Linked DNA regions of Homo sapiens: region 2 is linked to region 1. Evidence: promoter capture Hi-C in human tissues and cell types (Jung and others, 2019). All regions are on one chromosome and are shown on one strand. The core of a region is centred on a gene start or on the middle of the fragment in contact, and the rest is flanking DNA. Distances in the headings are between cores, read along the strand shown. Region 1 holds the start of HM13 (histocompatibility minor 13). Region 2 has its middle 12 kb from the start of DEFB116.

The links. Contacts are between HindIII fragments. The study calls those that stand out against the background at their distance.
Region 2: a contact is called between a fragment that was not itself captured here and the fragment with the promoter of HM13 in region 1, in 1 of the 25 tissues and cell types used here (mesendoderm cells).

Annotation. Positions count from the first base shown.
Region 1 is chr20:31,509,291-31,516,527 of GRCh38, forward strand. It overlaps HM13 (histocompatibility minor 13), which reads left to right and starts at 5,152. Exons shown (of 13, transcript NM_178581.3): 1 at 5,152-5,444. The coding sequence starts at 5,262. It also overlaps the pseudogene CD24P3. RefSeq lists a silencer at 5,749-5,818. The HindIII fragment of the contact is 9,221 bases long and covers 2,773-7,237 here.
Region 2 is chr20:31,316,688-31,324,146 of GRCh38, forward strand. No RefSeq gene overlaps it. Among named protein-coding and RNA genes, the nearest start is that of DEFB116, 12 kb to the left of the region's middle. The HindIII fragment of the contact is 4,475 bases long and covers 1,457-5,931 here.

The DNA.
Region 1 (7,237 bases), core at 3,902-6,401:
TAAAAGACTCAGGCCAGGCCAGGCATGGTGGCTCACGCCTGTAATCCCAGCACTCTGGGAGGCCGCGGCAGGTGGATCCCCTGAGGTCAGGAGTTCAAGACCAGCCTCAACAACATGGAGAAACCCTGTCTCTACTAAAAATACAAAACTAGCCAGGCATGGTGGCGCATGCCTGTATTCCCAGCTACTGGGGAGGCTGAGGCAGGAGAATCACTTGAACCAGGGAGTCGGAGGTTGCAGTGAGCCGAGATTGTGCCACTGCACTCCAGCCTGGCAACAGAGCTAGACTCCATCTCAAAACAAAAAAAAAAAAAAAAAAAAGTGAAACTATCTCAAAAAAAAGACTCAGGCCAAGACAGGTCTACACTTTCCCATCTTCTAAATTCAATTCAAAGGTCATCTAGAAGGCCAGTATGGCAAGGAAAAAACAAGTCTTCATCAAATCTAGTAGATCTAGATAAAATAAGATACAGGCCAGGCGTGGTGGCTCACACCTGTAATCCCAGCACTTTGGGAGGCCGAGGCGGGTGGATCATGAGGTCAGGAGATCAAGACCATCCTGGCTAACACGGTGAAACCCCGTCTCTACTAAAAATACAAAAAAAAAAAAAAATTAGCCGGGCACGGTGGCGGGTGCCTGTAGTCCCAGCTACTTGGGAGGCTGAGGCAGGAGAATGGCATGAACCCGGGAGGCGGAACTTGCAGTGAGCTGAGATCATGCCACTGCACTCCAGCCTGGGCGAAAGAACGAGACTCCATCTCAAAATAAAATATAAGATCCACATCTTGGTTGGGCGTGGTGGCTCACGCCTGTAATCCCAGCACTTTGGAAGGCCGAGACGGGCAGATCACGAGGTCAGGAGTTTGAGACCAGCCTGACCAACATGGTGAAACCCCATCTCTACTAAAAACACAAAAATTAGCCGGGCGTGATGGCGGGTGCCTGTTGTCCCAGCTACTCAGGAGGCTGAGGCAGGAAAATTGCTTGAGCCCGGGACACAGAGGTTGCAGTGAGCCAAGATCACACTACTGCACTCCAGCCTGGGTGACAGAACAAAACGCCATCTCAAAAAAAAAGATAAGATCCACATCTAATTTTATTGACACAGAAAATGTCAAGAACCCCAAATTTGGTTGGTTTGAAGAACATGTGAAGGGTTTGACTAGATGATGAATGTCAATATTAAATCAGCTGAAGTTTCATATACAAAATGAAGAGGAACAGCATTCAAACTTAGTTAAGACACAATTTCCTTGAGTGGCCAGGCATGGTAGTCATGCCTGTAATCCCAGCACTTTGGGAGGCCAAGGTGAGCAGATCGCTTGAGCCCAGGAATTCAAGACCAGCCTGGGCAACATGGTGAAACCCCATCTCTATAAAAAATGGAAAAATTAGCTGGGCATGGTGGTATATGCCTATAGTCCCAGCTACTCGGGAGGCTGAAGTGGGAGGGTCGCTTGAGCCCAGGAGGTCAAGGCTGCAGTGAGCTGTGATCATGCCATTGTGTTCCAGCCTGGGTGACAGAGTGAAAATGTGCCTTGAAATAAAATTTTCCTTTGAATACGGCTTAAGAAATATGGCCACTTAAAACTCTACCTTGAAAATAAATATAGATTTTATCTTATCTAGAGGTAGAGTGGGAAGTTTTCATTTGGTACATTAAATCTATAAGGCCATAAACAGGTAATATAAAAAGCTTTCATAATTCAATTTATATATAACATGAGAAGGAACTTCCAGGTGTTACTATGAATCTTCTATGTATAGTTACAGTCAATATACTTTATATAAGAGATAATTTTAATACCAATATAATCTAGATAACATTTTACTTTGTTATGTTATCATTGTTCTCTTGGGGAATAAATTTTTTCCTCTGAGGCTCTGGATTTGACATTGAATTTTGTGTGTACTAATTGACATGTGCCAGGGCAATGATGGACTGGAATCCACCCCCAAATCAAAGCATCATGGTAAATCTTGCTTATCCTTATAAAGTCAAATGATAGACATTTCCCATCACCTATTTCTATTCAACAAGAGCACCAGATTCAGTTAGCTAATCTGCTTCCAAAGAGTAGAACTGCATTGAGCTCAAATAATTTCAAAATACTGACTTTTTTTTATTTATTTATTTATTTTTTAGATGTGGTCTTGCTATGTTGCCCGGGCTGGTCTCTAACTCCTGGGCTCACACGATCCACCCACCTCGGCCTCCCAGCATGCTGGGATTACAGGCGTGAACCACCATACCCAGCCTATTTCTGCGTATGTTAAACATGCTTTACAATTTTAAAAATGAACTGTTTTGAAGGTAAAATTACAAATCTTGAAATTAAAAAAGCAAATATGTAAAGGAGCAAAAACTATAAATCAAACATTTGAGAAGAGAAAATTGGAGGCTAACTTGTATTAAATTCACAAAAACTTCTATACTTTCTGTAAATACTTTTTTAAAAAACTATAGATCAGAGGCTAGGCGCAGTGGTTCACGCCTGTAATCCTAGCACTTTGGGAGGCCGAGGCGAGTGGATCACTGAGGTCAGGCGTTCGAGACCAGCCTGACCAACATGGAGAAACCCCATCTCTACTGAAAATACAAAATTAACTGGGCGTGGTGACGCATGCCTGTAATCCCAGCTACTCGGGAGGCTGAGGCAGGAGAATCGCTTGAACCAGGGAGGCAGAGGTTGTGGTGAGCCGAGATTGCGCCATTGCACTCCAGCCTGAGCAAAAAGAGCAAAACTCAGTCTCACAACAAACAAAAAAACTATAGATCAGAATAACCACCTTTAGAACACTTTCGGTTATCAGTCAATATTTTTAGATAGAAGCTGGTAGTAAGCCTAAAGTGGGCTTAATTCTGCAGTAAACAACTGCCTCAACACATAGAAATCTTTTTTAAAATAGGCACTCTTGGCCGGGCGCGGTGGCTCATGCCTGTAATCCCAGCACTTTGGGAGGCCGAGGCGGGCGGATCACGAGGTCAGGAGATCGAGACCATCCTGGCTAACACGGTGAAACCCTGACTCTACTAAAAATACCAAAAATTAGCCGAGCGTGGTGGCGGGTGCGTGTAGTCCTAGCTACTCGGGAGGCTGAGGCAGGAGAATGGCGTGAACCCGGAAGCTGGAGGTTGCAGTGAGCCGAAATCGTGCCACTGCACTCCAGCCTGGGTGACATAGCAAGACTCCATCTCAAAAAAAAAAATAAAAAATAAATAAAATAAAATAAAATAGGCACTCTTGCGGGAGGTGGCAGCTCATGCCTATAATTGCAGAACTTTGGGAGGCCGAAGTGGGCAGATTGCTTGAGCCCAGGAGTTTGAGACCAGCCTGGGCAACATGCCGAAACCCCATCTCTACTAAAAACACAAAAAGTTAGCCGGGCGTGGTGGCACACACCTGTGGTCCCAGCTACTGGGGAGGCTGAGGTGGGAGAATCACCCAAGCCCAGAAGGTAGAGGCTGCAGTGAGCTGTGATCATGCCACTGCACTCCAGCCTGGGTGACAGAGTGAGACCCTGTCTCAAAATAATAATAATAATAATAATAATAATAGGCCCTCCTTGAAGTTTTTTGTTTGCACAGTCACACAGTGATGCTTAGATGTTCCAGTATCTAATATAGCCACAGTAGGCTGCAAGCAGTGGCTCATACCTGTAATCCCAACACTTTAGGAGGCTGAGGCAGGAGGATCACTTGAACCTAGGAGTTTGAGACCAGCCTGGCCAACATGGCAAAACCCCATGTCTAAGAAAATATATATTTTTAACTTTTTTAACAATATCAAAAATAAGAATCACATAAATAAACAGATTCTTCAAATTCTGAAAAGAGCCACAAAGCTTTATAAATTGTACAGGGGCATGAACTCGTAAGGTATTATAATTGCCTGGCACATAGTAGGCTCTCAATACATTTGCAAACTCCACACACACCTTACTTTCTTTTGCTTTATTTTTCTCTATTTATCTGCATTAACATGCTATGTAACACATAACTATACATTAACGTTTTACAAATTACAAATTTTTCTTGTTTTTTTTTTTTTTTTTTTTGAGACAGAGTCTCACTCTGTCGCCCAGGCTGGAGTGCAGTGGGCTCACTGCAACCTCCGCCTCCCAGGTTCAAGCCAGTCTCCTGCCTCAGCCTCCCAAGTAGCTGGGATTGTAGGCGCCCGCCACCACGCCCGGCTAATTTTTTATATTTTTAGTACAGACGGGGTTTCACCGTGTTAGCCAGGATGGTCTCGATCTCCTGACCTCGCAATCTGCCCACCTCGGCCTCCCAAAGTGCTGGGATTACAGGCGTGAGCCACCGCGCCTGGCCTTTTTTTTTTTTTTTTTTTTTTTTTTTTTCAGACGGAGTTTCGCTCTTGTTGCCCAGGCTGGAGTGCAATGGCTCAGTCTTGGCTCACTGCAACCTCCGCCTCCCGGGTTCAGGCGATTCTCCTGCCTCAGCCTCCCGAGTAGCTGGGATTACAGGTGCGTGCCACCACGCCCGGCTAATTGTTTGTATTTTTAGTGCAGACGGGGTTTCACCATATTGGTCAGGCTGGTCTCGAACTCGTGACGTCAGGTGATCCACCCGCCTCGGCCTCCTAGAGTGCTGGGATTACAGGCGTGAGCCACTGCGCCCAGCCCATTTTACAGACTTTTATTTTGTTCAGTTTCTTTATTGTCTTCCCAACGTCCCCCCACACACACTGCACTAAAATGCAAACTTCACGAAGGCAAGGAGGAACTTTTGCCTGTATTGTTCACCTCAGTGTCCCCAGAGCCTAGGTCAGTTGTTGGCATATTGAGGGACATTCAATAAATATTTAAGGAGTGAATAAACAATTGGATACCCAATAAATGCATGTATGAATAAACACATTCTTAGTTATTCGGAATATGAGGATTTGCGGAGAGTGGACAGCAGGGGATTGAGGAGACCGGCTGGGACTGGGAAATGGGCATTCGGGTCGCATGCCCACCGCAGTGGCCCAGAGCCCCTGTCCGGACCGCTAACAAGTTGCTTAGCAACCCGCCGCCCGGCCCTCGGCCACCGCTAGAGGGCGAGCGGGCGGGGAGACGTGCACGCGCGCGCGCGTGCGTGCAAGCGTGTGTGCGCGCGTGCGCGGCGCGGGCTTGGGAGGGAGCACGTCACTTCCTGTTGCCTTAGGGGAACGTGGCTTTCCCTGCAGAGCCGGTGTCTCCGCCTGCGTCCCTGCTGCAGCAACCGGAGCTGGAGTCGGATCCCGAACGCACCCTCGCCATGGACTCGGCCCTCAGCGATCCGCATAACGGCAGTGCCGAGGCAGGCGGCCCCACCAACAGCACTACGCGGCCGCCTTCCACGCCCGAGGGCATCGCGCTGGCCTACGGCAGCCTCCTGCTCATGGCGCTGCTGCCCATCTTCTTCGGCGCCCTGCGCTCCGTACGCTGCGCCCGCGGCAAGGTAGGGTCAGCGGGAAAACCGGGCACTTTCCACCCCCATACCGAACACGGCCGACATGGACCCTTCCTAGGCGGGACAGACACCTCTCCCCGGACACTGACTCTTCCCAGCCCTGATCACCACCGTTCCCTCTGTCTCGGGCCCACATTCCGGGGCTGGCATTTCCTACCCCGGGATCTGGGCACCGACCCCCGACCAGGGTATGATACCTTCCCCAATAGGAACTTGCTTCTGCTCCCGACCCGGACCCTGACACTTCCCTCCCTGTGCATCATGCCGCGGCTGGGAACGCTGTCAGCCCGTCCCCCACTGCGACTCGGGCACTGATTGTTCTGAGCCTGTTGGGCCCAGGCAGATCAGCCCCATCATGTATACCTGATGGATACTGGTCCTCACAACTTACTGAATGGTACAATTTCGTGTCATTCCCTGTTAGGAACCCTGCCTCAGCCCACCGCAGGGCCCTTTCTACCATCCAGACCCATCCCTAGACTCTGACTCCTGTCTCACTGGAATCTATGGCACCTTATGTGCTCACCTAGATCCCCCACACCTGGCCCTTGCCCCTGCCTCAAAAACAATGATCTCTTAGAGCCCAGTTTTTCACATCACTTTCTGGAACCATCCCAGTCAGCTGGCTCCTCAGAAGCTGGCATCTTGGTGCCTCTACTTTCCAACTAGGCATGGACGTCTTATTTTCCTGGTTTCCTCTCTTAACTACCATCCAACCTTGGACATGGCCTAGTCAAAACCTAGACCTTGTTCCTAACCTGTAACCCTTTTCCCACCCAGCCTTTGACCCTATCTCAAAGTAGCCCTTCTCCCCATACCCCCAAGACAATCCCCCCACCAAACTGGGCCTGTCTGCTGGGCCACTGTTGGCCCCTCTTGTGAGACTGGGCCAGACTCCATCCCTGGCCTTCCTCAACATCTGTCCTATTGGATAACTAGGAGGACTCCAGCACATTTCACCTTCTGCTTCTCCCTCCCCCTTCCCTGCCCCACTTCTTCCCTATATTAAGCCCTTTCTAGCCCGTTGTACCAATGACTTTTCACTTCCTGGCACCCTCTCCCTTCCTCCACAACCTCTTAATCTGCACCTTCCCGATGCTCCTCCCCCACCCAGACCTGAGGATGGACCTAAGTGGAAGTCTTGCCCAAAGAGGGCAGGCCCACAAAGCAGCTGCCACTTTTGAAACTGCTGAAGCTGAGGTTCTCAAAACACTACCCAACTTGAGCAGTAGCTGAGGCCTGCCATCTTCCTTCCCCAGGAGCAGAGAACTCACTACTGGCTCTGTATGCGATCAGATGCAAAGGAAAGTAGTTAGGCGGGGCTTAGGCTGAGAGACTCAAACATGACTCCATTTTCCTTTTTATTTGGCTTTTTCTAAGCTGAGTTCAGGTGATATTAAGCCTCTCTACTATGCCTGTCAGGTAGACACTTAGTGTAGAGAGCAGTTCTGAGATAACCCAGGACAGAGGAGGCGAAGGACAGCTGGCATAAGGCTAGGCAGCTTGATCTGAGCTGCTCTCCAAACTGAGTAATTCTCCCTGGCACCTTCTGTACATGGATCACTAATCTCTGCAGAAAACACCTTCCAGGCAACAGTATTTCCTGAACTTCCACCACTGTCAGGGGTAAGGGAGGATTGCTGCAAAGATGAGTAGGTCAGAGCCCTGTCACCAAGGAATTCGGGAGCGTAGGTGAAAGAATAATAACTAGATTGTGATTATACTACAAGCAATGCTACAAGGTTTAGGGAGAAAGATTGAGCACATCTGGGACAATGCAG
Region 2 (7,459 bases), core at 2,444-4,943, 190 kb before region 1:
TTCAATTTTAACGCATTTTGTTCATATTTAACGCCCAGGCTATATTCAAATTTCCCCAATTGTGCTAGAAATGTTCCGTGAAGCTGGTATGCTTAAATGACTGAATGTGATTTATTTATATCCCTTTGATCTCTTTCAGTCTAGCACAGTCCCCATTTTGTCACACTGATTTGTTGAAAACATTGAGCCAGTTGTTTTTACACTGATCCACCTTCTGATTTTCTAGTTTCCTTTTGCTTCCTCACCAATTTATTTTGTACGTAGGAAGTTAGTTCTTATGGCTTTATTGATGTACACTAATAATCTTGGCAAAAATGTATCAGAGCTGAAGCTGTGTTCTTTATACTGCATCACATCAGAAGTCATTTAATATCTGGATGTCCCTTGCTATTCAGATTCACAAGTGAATTAAAGTGACGACTGTCTGGTCTTTTTATTGGACAGTGTTGATTTTTCACTTTCATATTCAAATTGGTCTGTATGTTGTTACTTTTGCCAAGTAACAAATATCTGGTTCCATGTCAATCACATCCTTAATGGTTTTAACACAAATTATGGTCCTTGCCTGAATCAATAAATTCTTTAGGCGTTGCAGAATACAATTCAGTAAAATATAGCTTTCCCTCATCAACAAGAGCTATTTGATTACTAGAAATACAGCTCTTACTGGAGAGGCAGGATAAATGCTTAATTCTTTCAAATTACTTATTGGTCTTTGAAGTAAGTAGTTTGCTTAGTAGCTGCTTCAAATGGTGACATATGAGTTTTTCTGGTTATCCCATCTCTGAGTATCTTTAGACAATCATGCCTTTTCATTGATTCATTGTATTCCAGTCCATTTTATTTGTTACTATTTTTGATGCTCAAATTGTTATAACCTTATCAAGTAGAGATTTCCTCTGGCTGGATTATATATCCCTTTACATGACCCATTCGTTTTTTAAAGCTTTGATGATTTCTGCACAAGAAAATGTCCTGGGCTCACACTGTAAGTCCACAGCACTAGACCAGGGTTCAGCCATTTTTCTAAATGGCCCTGGTTGCTTTGAGTGAAGACTTGACTTGCAGACCAAAATCTGGGCACTTATGCTCATTGCTAATACGGTGCTATTGGTTCTAGTCAATTTAAGTTGGAAAAACTAAAATATTTACATTTTAATGCTTGTGAGGTTTCTGGATTCTGTTTAGCCACCTAAATTTAGGTCTCCTTACAATACTCCAAAAGTCATATATATCATATGAATCAATAAGAAAAGCATATAAAATTATCCATAACAAATGCCTACAATATAATCAAAAGACAGAGCTTCCATATATACAATTATAATTTGTCAAGTAACAATGGCAAATAAATAAGGCAGATATTCTTAGGTTATTCATTATGTTGATATGTGATAAGATGTCCCATATCACTCAGCCTGTGATAATATTTTATAAATGTTCTTGTCTCTATTTGAGAACAATTTGTATCATTTGGATGCAGTGTTCTGTATATTAGATTAATCCTACTAACTGGTGATTACCACATCTATATTCAGAGGAGGATTTCTAAGTCCCCGACTTTAATTATGGATTCATCCATTCCTCTTTATTTCTGATGATTTTTATTTACATATATTTCCATGCTGTATTAATAAAGGTACAAAAATATGTTTGGAAAACATGTCTTCCCAGTAAGTTGAACATTTTATCACTACGCAGTTATACTTTTTATCTCAATAATGCTTTCTTTCCTGGAAGTCTATTTTGTGTGATATTAATTTAGCTAAACTGCTTTCTTTGGGTTAGTGTATTTCCTATTCATTTCAACTTTATTTTTTTAATCCCAAATACTCATCTCCTAATTTATGTGCAATTTTAATTTTATCTTATTGTTTTTGGTTAAGAAAAATACTATTGTTATTATTTTATCAATGAATGATTGCAAATTTGCCACATATTTACAAGTATTGACCTTCTGTCTAAAGCTTCTCTCTTAGAATTTCCTTTGGTGATAGCCTATTATAGAAAATTCTCCTAGATTTTATCTGAAAATATCTACAGTATATCTTCATTCTTAAATTACAATTTCATTAGGTGTAGGAATATATGTGAGAGTTATTCTTCCTCAGCACACTGAAAATATAGTATCATTGTCTTCATGCTTTCTTTGTTGATGCTGAAAAAGTTGCTGTCAGTCTAATATTTGCTCCCTTGCAGGTAATAGGACCTTTTTCTCTAGCTGGTTTCAGATCTTCTCCTTGTTTTCATTATTCTACATTTTCCCTGTGTTCTATCTACATGTGCATTTTTCATATTTACCCTGGTTTTGATTTATTAGGGTTTTTTTTGAGTCTGAAAGATTGGTGTTTTTCATCAGTTCACAAGTTCTCAGTCATGTTAACTGGTACTATTACTTCTGCTCCCATTTTCTCTCCTCTTTCCTTCTAGAATTCCAAATAAACATGTTTAGGACTTCTCACTATATTTTCTATGTCTCTTAACCTCCCTTTTATTTTTTTAATCTTTTTGTCTATCTGCACTAAATTCTGAATAATTTCTTCTGAATAATCTCTTAATTCACTAATTCTCTCTTCAGCTATGTCTAATGTAATGTTAAATCCAAGTTTTTATTTTCACGTTATTTCAAGTTATTTCTATTTATTTTTCAGATCTGCTTCCTTTTTTTTTTTTTTTGTGATGGGGTCTCACTCTGTCAGTCAGGCTGGAGTGCAGTGGCATGATCTCAGCTCACTGCAACCTCCACCTCCCTGGCTCAAGCAATCCTCCCACCTCAGCCCCCTCAGTAGCTAAGACTATAGGTGTGCACCACCACATCCAGCTAATTTTTTGTATTTTGGTAGAGACAGGGTTTCATCATCTTGCCCCAGGTGGTCACAAACTCCTGAGCTCAGGCAACCCACCCGCCTCGACCTCCTAAAGTGCTGCGATTACAGGCATGAGCCACTGCACTTGGCCAAGATCTGCTTGCTTTTTATTTATAATTTCAAGTCTTGATTTTTTCTTGAAACATATTAAAGATGATTATTTTTTCTTTTTTTTTTTTTTTTTTGAGATGGAGTCTTGCTTTGTCACCCAGGCTGGAATGCTTTGTCACCCAGGCTGGCCCAATCTCATCTCACTGCAACCTCTGGCTTCTGGGTTCAAGCGATTCTCCTGCCTCAGCCTCCCGAGTGGATGGGATCACGGGGACATGCCACCACGCCTGGCTAATTTTTTTTTTTTAGCAGAGAGGGGGTTTCACCATGTTGGCCAGGCTAGTCTTGAACTCCCAGTCTCAGGTGATCTGCCCACCTTGCCCTCCCAAAGTGTGGGATTACAGACGTGAGCCAATGTGCCCAGCCATAAAGATAATTACTTTCTATTCTGTGACTGACAACTTCAATATCTGAATTGTTCCAGGTTTGAGTTTACTATTTATTCTTTCTGCTGCTTCTCATTCATAATGCTTTATTTTCTTGAGAGTTTTGTGATTTTTGTCTGCGAACTGATCATTTTCTTTAAACTTTTTTAAAGAGGTCTAGGATTAAGATGAGTTCTTCAGAGAATATTTATGTTTACTTCTGTCAGGCAACTAAGGGCATTACCAGTCTGGGCCTGTGTAAATTAGATTCTCAGCTTTAGATTTTTCATATCATCAGAGTGCCATGATTCAGGCTATATACTAAGTGAGGGCCTGCTTGGGATTACAAAATCTCAGAGGAGACTCCCTTGCACACACACACCCAATCTTCTCATTAACTAAATTAAAAACAGTTCATTTTCCTTGCAATCCAACTGGGGAGTAGGGATTGTTTCCAGCTCACTGTTATTGTAAAGACGCAATTCTTTGAAGTCCCATATTGATGCAGGAGTCTCTTATTAGGTTTTTTACCACTGGTACTCTGGATAGTAATTTCCATTTCTCAGTTCCATAAGGCCATGAAAAGCATAACTCAAGTTCATATGGTTCAGGAAATACCCTCAAGGTGGAAACTGTTTCAGTGTTTCTTTTCCTAAAAGGACTCCCTTCTCAATTCAATTTCTTGGTTCCATATTATTTAATTTTTGCAAGCTTATGAAATCATTTAAGAAAATATGAAAAATATCCATTTTAGAGATGTTTTCAGCAGAAAAGTACTCACTCTGCCATGGAGTTCAAGGCAAATGCTTAAGCCCAATGTTAAGCTTTGTTGCTCAGCATGGCTACTAGGGAAAGAAGATTCTTTCTGCCTATTCTTGAAATTTGGTTGCTATTTGACCAGTATCTTCTCTTTTGCTTTTTCTAAACAAGTCTAAATATGTCTGAACCTCAAGGTTATGTGCAACTTGAGTTTTTTTCAAACTTAGGTTTCTTTATCCTCTTATAAATTAGACAGTGTCACTTTATAATCTCCTTCAGGTAAGTACTTTACTGCCCATAAGATTATCTCATGCCCCACCAGAGAAATCTTTGAACTAAAGAAGTAATAAAATATTTTCCCAGTGTTGGACTTACCTTTTAATTTGTGTATGGTACATTTTGCCATAGAGAAGTAATTAAATTTAAGTAGTTAATTCTTCATAGCTGTTTTCTGGTTTTGTGCTTACAAATTTCCAGCAAAGTCTCTCTAAATAGTAAGTAATAAAGCCAACATTCATATCCCAAACCCTCAACTATATCCATTGTACCACACCATCTCTACATATAGTGAAACAGCTGGAGAAGGCTGACTCCTTTCTAGATAATGCCAGTTGCAGCTGCGATATCCATTGTTCTATAGGTTTTTGTGGGGGGTTTTTTTTGTGTGTTTTTTTTTTCCTTTCTAATATACCAGAGGTGCATACCATTATCTTGGTCCATACAAAATTTTTGGCATCTTTATAGCCCTCTTTAATGTTTATTTATTGTAATGTTTTTATTCATTTATTTTAAAAATAACGAGTCCTTCACAAATACAAGAGCTAAAATAGCATCAATAACTTAAATTTAAATACTCCTGTATTCCTCTAAAATCCCACACATCCTGCCTTTCCTTATCCACTCCCCAAGAATTTAACATATTTATTTGTATTTCTAAGTAGCATAATGGTAATTTTTATTGTTTAAAGTTTAATTTTGGGGAGAAAAATAAAACTGGGAAAAAAATAGTTTTATTTTTAAAAGAGGTAACAAAGTCTTCTTTGGTATGCATAGTCTTCTAAGATTTGTCTTTTACAATCCATAATATATTATTATTATTAAAATTCAACTATTGTGTGTAGCTGAATTTTACTTCTTTTCCCTGATATGTAGCTCATTCTTTGAATATATCACAATTTATTTATCTATTTGCCTGTCAAAGAACATTTATGTTCCTTACAGTTTGTAGCTTACCTTTTTACTTTCTTTTGGGTATCTTTTGATGGACAGAAATTCTTATATTTTTACATACTCAAACTTATCAATGTTTTCAATATAATTTTCAATACAGTGCTCACATGAAGACTCAGGTTATATATACATAAAATTTCAAGTGCACCCGTTTTCATAAAAGAAATGGAGTAAGTGAATTCCTCCACAGCTGTCACCATAAGTTCTCAGCATTTTAGTCTATTGAAATTCCTCCACAGTGATGCTCCCCTTGACAATACATTTATTTATTAGCACTCATTTCATGCTTATCCTTCTATGAAGGGCCAGGTATAATAAATTCTTCAGTACCTAAATAAACTAAAAATAATTCCAATATATAAACAATGCTCAAAGTCATCCCTTGTTTATAAGTATTTGAATAAACTAAAAATTATTTCTTCTATTTTCTTTGGATCAGGATGGCAGCAAAAAAAGGATATTTTTTTTCTTCGCTGAAGTTTTGGAAAGAAGGAATGCCTTTGTGTCAGGCTAGTATATGGCCTCCCACAGAAACCCAAAACAGTAGCTACATCTGCTGGCCTCCTGGTAGATCCCAGAAAACTACCAAAAACTTTTACAGTCCTTGCTGCATTTGAATCACAGTGCCCCTGTATGTCCCCTCCCACATCCAAACAGACAGGGGACTCCTCCCTGCTGCCTGGCATGCCTTCTCAGCAGGCCTCACATAGATAGGGAGAATAAGTGCTGCAGGGAGCCCTCCTCAGAATGAAACTCAAACCTGATCTAATTCCGCCCCAGTCTGAAGGGATTGCCCTCTCCCAATCGCCCTGAATAGGAAGACCACTACGAAATACTCAAAACTCTCTCAGAATCCACCAGAGCAATGGGCAAAATGCTGACACAGAGAGAGGTGCAGGAAGGTAGTCTCTCTCTCTCTCTCACTCTTTCCATCCGGACAGAGACACACGGCTGCATCACCCAAAGCAAATGTCAGTACCTTTTTTAAGTTCCTTATTACCACGGTTTTTTGGGTAATACTTTGTATCGCCATCAGACTTTGTATCGCCAACATCAATTTATTTTCACTTCTAATATTTCCTCATTGCTCAGTCTGATAGTCAGAAGAAATCTTCTTTTGAATTTCACCATTGTGTGTGACCCACTGAATGCCTGTGTGAAGGTCACTTTCCTTTCTGAGGCTCAGTTTCCCCATCTTCGTCTTCTTCACAAAACAATCTACAGGGTATAACAGTGTTGGTGGGATATTTTTTAAAAAGAAAACAAAAACACTGGCAGTGATTAGTTCCCATATGTAGAGAGAATTGAGGAGCAGCGCAAGAAAAAAGAGAGTCTGGATGAGGGAGACGAGAAGGACAGAAAGATGATTGTGTTGACTTTGAAATAGTGGAGGGATGTGAGAAACTACTCTCAGGGTATTCTTGTGGAAATGCTCAGCTTCAAGAGGTGCCCTCTCTGATCATACCAGCCTTTTTCTTCCTCTAGCCAACTTCCAAATTCTAACATTTGAACCATTCAGTGCCTATGAAGTTCTCACCCAAGGAATTTGGGAAGTTATGGAGAAAGGCCTCTGGATATTTTCATTTGGAGGAGGGAACAGAATAAATTTTAATAGACCCCGATCTACCTGATTACGTGGCTCCATTTAAGCCTAACACAGATTCAAGTTCCACACAACTACAGACCAATCCCAAGTTCTGATCACTCACACTTTTGTTCAAATTGAGCCTAAACTCTGTTTCCATCTTAACTCCAAACTCCAACCCTACTCTACCCAAGGTCTATCCATGTTTAACCCCAAGACAACCACAACCTAACTTTACTACCACTAGCTCCAGTTCAGCCCATCACCCTGCCTAATCCCTATATCCAGATTCATTTGGCCATAAATTTCACCCCCTCTCCAGACTACCTCATACCAATCCTAATTCCCCCAATACAACTCCTCACCTAGTATTTATCCCGAACCATCTTCCAAATATCTCCCTAACTGCAAGCTCCTCTTCCCACTGTTCAACAAAATTCATCCCTGGTGTCCAATATCTCTCAGAGATCCCTACCCCTCCTCAACTGGGACTCAATCTCTTGCCCTTAACCCTTCATCTAATTGCATATTGTATGAGTCAC